2 separate regions of the Homo sapiens genome follow, and region 2 is linked to region 1. The links are contacts of gene promoters, found by promoter capture Hi-C in blood cells and fetal thymus (Javierre and others, 2016). All regions are on one chromosome and are shown on one strand. Each heading gives the region's core, a stretch centred on a gene start or on the middle of the fragment in contact. The rest is flanking DNA. Distances are from core to core; before and after follow the strand shown.

Region 1 (4,042 bases), core at 53-2,552:
AATTTAGATGCGCCCCTCCGCCCCCCTGCCAATACACACGCAAGGGGGCATAGCAGATGATGGCACATGTCCCATATGCAAACATGAATAGTAAACATGCTTTAGTACAGCTGGAGCTACTGTAGCAGAAAGTCAGGTTGTCTGCTACTCCACCTGGTCTTCTTAAAGGATTGGGTCTGGACATTCACCTCTCAGTGACTGCCACTCCCCATATATATCACAGGTTCAGGCTCTGCATTCAGCCCATTCGGAGTGTGTGAGTGCTAACATGGAACTCTCCAGGAGACAGCAAGCAGAAATGTGGATGATTAAAATAAAGGGTTTTCTTTGGCAATCTCAATTGCAAATGAGGATAAGGAAAATCCTCCCAGCTCACACTCTGCTCCCAGCTACTTGTTCTTGAGTTAAATGAGGGCTTGGCTCTGGCCTCAGGGGGCAAGAGCACTGTTCGTTATTTGGTGGTGGGGGAGGGGGTTGGGGGATCCGTCAGCACTTACATGCCTTTAGAGAATCTGCCTTTACAGAACTTGAAGAGCTCTGATGGAGGAACAGAGATGCTGTGGTGGTAGTGGCCTTGGAGGTGGTGGTAGTGGCAATGGTGATGATGATGATGATGAAAGAAGAAGAAAACGGTGATGGTAAATGTCATCTATAAACACAAGCAAAAAGCAGCAACAGATACCTTTCTAGTCATTGCCAACCATAGTCATGAAGCTGCTTCTGTTCCCAATGCAATCCCATTGTGGTGCTCCCCCTCTGCGCTAAACACATCCAGCTTCAAAAAAAAAAAAAAAAAAAAAAAAAAGCTCTGCATCTCTCCGTCCCCCGCCCTCCCGCCCTCCCGCCCTCCACCTTTCCTGTGCCAAGCTGGGAATGAGACTGCACTGGCGGGTCAAGGGGGCTGGGACCTGAGAGTCAACGACAGGAGTTCTGTAGTGAGGAGCGTTGGGATGACCCGGAGGGCCCACCAACGTACTTGGGAGCAGCTTGGTGGGGGAGCTGGAGGAACCGACACAGAAGGGGAGGAAGATAAGCTGGCGGGGTAAATAGACTTGATGCCTCATTCCAAGAACCCTGAAAGCCACGGGGGAAGGCGGAGCAGGCAGCCTTTGGTCGGGAAGAAGAGACGGGCAGATGGCCAGCAGAACAGACAAGACTCTCTTTACCTGACCAATACTCGGGAGGCTGGTCCCGAGTCCCAGCTACTCGGGAGGCTGAGGCAGGAGGATTGCTTACGGCAACAGCCGTGGCGGCTGCAGCCTCGAAGGATGCTGCGCTCCAGTCCAGAGCCAAAGCCCAAAGGGGCAGCTGCGCCGACCTCCACCGAGGCTCCGCCCCACAGGCCACAGGCCCCGCCTTCCTAGCACGCGCCGGCCTGACGAGCTGTTTGGGGGAGGTGAGCAGTAAACTGATCGGCAGGGCTGAAGACCAGTGGAAACGTGCAGCGGCGCCCGAGGTGGCAGGGGAGGCGGGGCGGGAGGCGGCGGTGCCCAATCAGCAGCCGAGCCGTTGGGCCAGGCTGGGAAGCAGTGCTGTCTTTTGGCACCGTCTGATCCGGGCTGAGGGATTGAAGGCGGTGGTCGCTAAGCTAGGTCTAAGACGGACAGCCAGGGCGACAACCAGTCTCTCGCTACGTGTCCCCAGCTTCCCTGTTTCCGAGCGCCTCTCAAGGCGCACGCTCTGGACTTGTTCAGATGGGGGAAGGGAACTGGTCTGGAACTCCCCACTATTCCCGAGGTTCCCACGCCTCCAGATCCGGAGAGGCCGTTTCGCTCCAGTGGCCTGGCCCCCCTGCCCCCTCAGCCTAGCCGTTCTTGATCGTAAGTGCTAAAAGGAACAAAGAAGGAGAATTCAAGAATCCACACATAAGCCCAAACCCTGACAGGAGCCTTTTCCTCTCCCATCTCCTGCCTACGCTTCCTCCTAGTAGCTTTTTAACTGCTGGCGGTTAAGTTACTTTGACTGGTTTGAATTAAACGCAAAATAGGTTTAGGCTGAGAAATGGGCCAGACCCTTGGCGATCTGAGAAAGAAAGACTGAGTCCGGATGTCAAGAGGCCTGGGCCTCACGAGGGAGTTTGTCTGCTTATTTGAACACCTCAGAGTTGAAGATCTTGTTACTGCTATTTCTGTGCTGGTGAATCAGTACAGACCTTGATGCCAAGGTACTGTTTTGTCCCCAAGTGTCTAATCATTACTGAAATGAACTACCTTCAAACCTTTCCTAAGAGGATTTGAGGCCTTAATGTCGTTGAGATTTGGAATGTGATTTGAGTGACACTGAGATCTTTTCCAAGTAGGTAGGCAAGAAAAGGCATTGTCTTTAATCTGCTTTTGGATAAATGCGAACTGTATCACCCATTTGGTACTTGAAGATAGAATTTTGTCCTGAATAGATTCTGTTTTCAAATAAGTAAATGGGAAAAAAATTTGGAAGGTATTTTTAAGGTGATTTTTTTCACTATTTTTTTTCTAGAAATAATAGTTTATTGGAACTCTGATTTATTCTTAATCACAATATTAGCCAAACACTGATAGGCCCTTTATTTATTTGTTTTTTTAACACACGGTCTCACTCTGTCACCCAGGCTGGGGTGCAGTGGTGCGATCTTGGCTCACTGCAGCCTCAACCCCGTGGGCTAAAGCCATCCTCCCAACTCAGCCTCCAAAGTACCTGGGACTACAGGCGGGCACCACCATGTCCAGCTAATTTTTTAATTTTTTATTTGTAGGGACAGGGTTTCACCATATTGCCCAAGCTGGTCTCAAACTCCTAAGCTCAAGCGATCTTCCCTTCTCAGCCTCCCAAAATGCCGAGATTACAGTTGTGAAGTGCTGTGCCCGGCTCCATAGGCACTTCATATACATTATCTCCTTCAATCCTCATATCTTCCCCTTGTAAATTCCACTTATAGATAAGAAAACTGAGGTTCCCAAAGTTCAAGTAATTGTCCTTGGGTCATGTTCGTAGTTAGGAGTAGAGTCAATACGAGGTCCGTATATCTCCTGTCTAAAAATCATCATCATCAGTTAGAAGAATAAGAAGCCCTCAGTACGACTCTTAATTCCTTGATGCTTTTTTCTTTTTACCTGAAAATTGTCATATAGGGATCCAGTTTTCACACTACTGACTTCTTGAAACCGCAGCCTCAGAAGCACCTTTAAGAGTGAAGTGTCACCTCTGACATGTGTTAGGAGCAATTGCAAGTCAACTTTGCTCATAGAAGGGAGCTGTGATTTCCTATTGTTGGGAAGGAAGTAAAATTTTGCAGGGCTTAAGTCAAACTAGGTTTTAATTGATGTAGAAATCTTTTAAAGTCCACCCACAAAATAATATCATGGTCGTGTGAGCTGAGTCCTAGAAAGGTAAAAGGATGTTAATCCAAAGTCATATTCCAGCATTGTTTCAACAGTGTTCTGAAGAAATTCCTAAATCCTACTCTGGCCTTTAATCAAACCTGGAAATATGTACTTGCTCTAAGCTTGGTAGGGGGAGGGAGTAGGAGGTGTTTTAAAGAGAAAGGAGAAGAAAAATATTTTCCCAAAGAGGCTATTAATAAAGACAAAATATAAATAAGTTAAAGGTTATAGATCAATACAAAGGTATACACTAATTAACAAGTTAGTGGAGTTTTGTTTTGTTTTGTTTTGTTTTGTTTTGTTTTGTTTTGTTTGAGACAATTTCACTCTGTCACCCAGGCTGGAGTACACTGGTGTAATCTCGGCTCACTACAACCTCTGTCTCTCAGGTTCAAGTGATTCTCCTGCCTCAGCCTCCTGAGTAGCTGGGACTACAGGCATACACTACCATGCCTGGCTATTTTTTGTGTTTTTAATAGAGATGGGGTTTCACCATGTCGTCCAGGCTGGTCTCGAACTCCTGACCTCAAGCAATCTGCCCGCCTCGGCCTCCCAAAGTGCTGGGATTACAGGCGTGAGCCACCATGCCCAGCTTGTTAGTGGAGTATTTATGTGATCCTTGCTTAATAAACAGTTACTGGCCGAGAGGATTGCATGGACCCAGGAGTTTGAGACCAGACTGG
Region 2 (3,772 bases), core at 544-3,043, 510 kb before region 1:
TTAAGGAAGAAGGTTGAAATTTTCCATGTTGTTCATGCATCCCACCCACTTTCCTACCCACTAATGCCATAGAGAATGGTGAGTGGGCTTCACTTACATCCGGCTTTGAGCAGCTGACCTTGGTGGTTAAGAGTAGTGGCTCTAGACTCTGACTACCTGAGTTCAAACTCCAGGTCAACCTGTGTGACCTTAAACAAGTTAATTAACCACTTCGTACCTCAATTTCCTTATTTGCAAAATGGAGGTCATTGTGGGAATTAAATAAAATTATCCATGTAAAGCATTTTAGCACAGCACCTAGCACAGAGTAAGGACTCTTTAAATGTCATCCTGATTATAATTAGCTTTGCTGCCCCTAGTAAATAATGCACCTCTTACCTTGGGCTTGTGTTAGCTTCTAGCACCAGAGTAGTCTTTTCCTGCAAGCCTAATAATAATAATAGTTGGTATTTATCAGGTTGGTGCAAAAGTAATTGCACTTTTTACTATTGCTTTCAATAGGAAAAACTGCAATACTTTTGCACCAATCTAATATTATTTCTACTTTATATTAAGAAAACAGAAGCTTAGAGAGTAGCTTGCATAAGGTTATCCAGGTAACAAGTAGCTGAACCAAGACTCAAACCCAAGTCTACCTGATTAAGGACTGTGTACTCAACCACCAGGACATACTGCCTTGCTCTGAAAATTGTGATAACATTGACTACTCAACTTTTTTTCTTTTTCTTTTTCTTTTTTTTTTTTTTGAGATAGGGTCTTACTTTGTTGCCCAGGTGGGAGTGTAGTGGCACAATTATAGTAATTCTGTGCCTCAGCCTTCCAAGTAGCTGGGACAACAGGTGTGTGCCACCATGCCCAGCTAATTTTTAAATTTTTTGTAGAGGTGGGGTCTCATTATGTTGCCCAGGCTAAACTCAAACTTCAGAGCTCAAACGATCCTCCCACCTTGGCCTTCCAAGGTGCTGGGATTATGGGTGTGAGCTACCACACCGAGACTTTTTTTTCTTATGATACCCATAACTAGTCTGACATCAGCTTTTCTTAAACACAATGCAGGCTGTCTCTGAAAGAGACTGTCTTAGAAAATATGCTCCTCCTTTCATTTAGGATGAGGCCTCTGTTTTCCGTGGGGCACAAAGCTTCCATCTTGAGGCAGAACAACCAAAGTAGTTGGATGTGACCAAGCCAATGTGTGGCTGCTGGGCCAGGAAGGCAGGAAAACCTGAATCCCTGCCTGGCTCTAATCATTTCAGCCACCTTCTACTTGTTTGTAGGGTTTTGGATGGGTAGGAAGAAAGACTAGTTCAGAGTTTAGAGAGCGACAGTCTCCATTGTTAAGTCCATTGGATGTGGTACAGTGCAGTGGTTCTTAAAGTGTGATTCCAGGACCACCAGCAGCAGCAGCACCTGAAAACTTGCTAAAAATGCAACTTCTCAGTCCCTACCCTGATTCAACCTATTGAATCAGAAGATTCTGGGGGTGGGACCCAGGAATTTGTTGCAACCAGTCCTCCTCATGGTTCTAGTGCACACTGAACTTAGAGAATATTATAGGAGAATGGAAAGAGGTCCAGAGTTTGAGCCAAGAGATCTGACCTCTAGTGTTGACTGTAGTATGCCACTTTCACTTTCTTGAGCCTTAATGTCTTCACCTATGGAAGGAAGACATAGGCAATGCCTCCAAAGAGCATACAGTGTAGTTCTAGCTTGTCTGAAAACAAAAACAATAAAAACACAAAATCATACAGACCTGTGGAATCAAGCTCTAGTCTGTGCACTTAGGAGCTCTGAGAGGACAGCAATCAAGCTGGCCTGGTAGAATTGGACAAAATCCCAAATCCAGACACTTTCTTGTCACAGGTTGTCTGCCATTTCCTTTGCTGTTCTTCCATGAAACTAACATATTCCCTCATTCTTTGTTCTGCCACAATCTGCATTCCAAGAATGAAATCGCTTGCTAAATTTAGCCATTATTTGTGAGGAATTGCTTGAATTATGACACAACACAGCACAGTTGAGCAATCCAAGAATAAAACCTTGATTTCTCCTTTCATGCCATGCTGTCCTCTGAATCATGGCCCACTCACCCTGGATAGAGCAGCAGAGCTCAAAGAGTCCATCTCAGCCTCAGAGATAGGATGTGAATTCTAGGGCACATTTTTAAGCCCGGAGACACCTTCGGTTCCCAGAGCAGGCTTTATCTGCATCTCAGTCAGGGCCCACTCAGAGGTACACCAGAAACAATTATGAAAGGTTATAAAGGTGCCATATGCAGATTGCCTGAACTCTCTTGAATTGGTATATTTTCCTACATGTTAATTGCTATATATTGTGTAAGTTAGATAAATAGCTCACTGAAAAGTGGAGAGCCGCATTAGGGATTTGTTCAGAATGCTGATGACTTCCACACTAGCTGTATACTGCTAAGAGCTGAGAGACTGTGTACTGAAAGCTTAAGAGCAGTGTCAAGAACTAGACAACCTGGCTAATTGTAAATGGCCCCCCTTTCAGCATTGACTTTGATGTCTCATTATGTCTTTCAAATGAGACCCTCCTTCTTCCCCCTAACCCTGCACAAAATTCACAATCCCTCCTCTGTCCCCCTTTTTATTGCTGTTGTCTAAAATATATTAGACATGGGAAAAATGACTCATTTTTAGAGCATCATGCCTAGTAATAATAGAATTTACATAAAAGCAGCATCTGAGAGAGATAGCCTTCTTTCTTTGGTTTCAATGGAAAACTTGCTTGATTTCAAAGGGCAGTCATAGTATAAACTGTCAGTCAAAGGGAGATAATGGGAAGGGAACTAAAACATATTGCAAACCTATTATGTGCCGGGTGTTCTAAATGTAATCATCTCTATTCCTCACAGCAATCCCGTAGGTAAGTATTTGATTATTTGCATCTCACACATACATGAACAAACTTGGAGAGACCAAGTTAACTTTCCAAAGGAACTAAGCCTATCTATATCTTAGGAGCTGGGATTTGATCCTTGAGCTCTGCTCTTGTCTGACTCCAAAGCTTAAGCTGTTATCACAATAAAACACAACATCAAGTGCTGTGTGGAGATTGTTGTTGTTGTGTAATGTACTTTCTCCAAGAAGCCAAAGTAGTTTCTAAACTGCTTGCTCAGGAGAAAACAGAGTGGGTCATGTGCAACAGAAGTATGTTACCTAAGGAAACACTTGCTCTTGTAACAAATAAAAACATTGTATGGCTCAACGCAATAGAAGTTTATTTTTCACCCGTGTGAAGTCCTGCCAGAGGCGCGTGAGGCTGTAGTGCGGTGGATGGTTCGGCACCCCAGACTGCCATCTTTACACTTGACCCCCACAGTTGCCCTGGCAACATGTAACAAGCTGACCAGGAGATGGGGGTGGGGAATGAGGAGAAGTGGAGCATGGTATGAGAGGTTTTTATGCTTTTAGGTGATGTATTTCAATTCCAGGCCTGGGAATGGAATACATTACTTGTGCCCACATTCTGTTGGCCTCCACTCAGGCAAATGACTCCACGTGATTGCAAAGCAAGGCTGGGAAATTAGTCTAGCTGGGTGCTAAGGAGGAAAGGGAAGTGGGTTTGGTGAACAGCCAGTGAGTCTCTGCACAGGAGTGGGAGTTTGAGATGAGTAATCCTATCTAACTGGATCCTAGAGGGAAGGTGGCTGCTAGTGTTCTAAGTTACTACTGATGTGAACAGATTCTGACCTTTGGCTGCCTAGTTGTTTTTGATAAATTAACTCTTAGAATAATGATGAATGTCTTGG

Evidence for each region. Contacts are between HindIII fragments. The CHiCAGO score rates a contact against its expected background, and 5 or more counts as called.
Region 2: a contact is called between a fragment that was not itself captured here and the fragment with the promoter of FMN1 in region 1, in 3 of 17 cell types (M0 macrophages, monocytes and M1 macrophages). The highest score is 6.3, in M0 macrophages.

The regions. Positions count from the first base shown.
Region 1 is chr15:33,193,412-33,197,453 of GRCh38, forward strand. It overlaps FMN1 (formin 1), which reads right to left and starts at 1,303. Exons shown (of 21, transcript NM_001277313.2): 1 at 1,167-1,303; 2 at 498-649. It overlaps LOC105370759 (a long non-coding RNA gene), which reads left to right and starts at 1,500. Exons shown (of 3, transcript XR_932090.3): 1 at 1,500-2,164. RefSeq lists silencers at 1,282-1,621, 1,396-1,605. The HindIII fragment of the contact is 5,074 bases long and covers 1-3,479 here.
Region 2 is chr15:32,680,754-32,684,525 of GRCh38, forward strand. The region is part of intron 11 of ARHGAP11A-SCG5 (ARHGAP11A-SCG5 readthrough); the gene reads left to right. All of the region lies in intron 3 of SCG5 (secretogranin V), which reads left to right. Among named protein-coding and RNA genes, the nearest start is that of SCG5-AS1, 9.6 kb to the left of the region's middle. The HindIII fragment of the contact is 1,313 bases long and covers 1,138-2,450 here.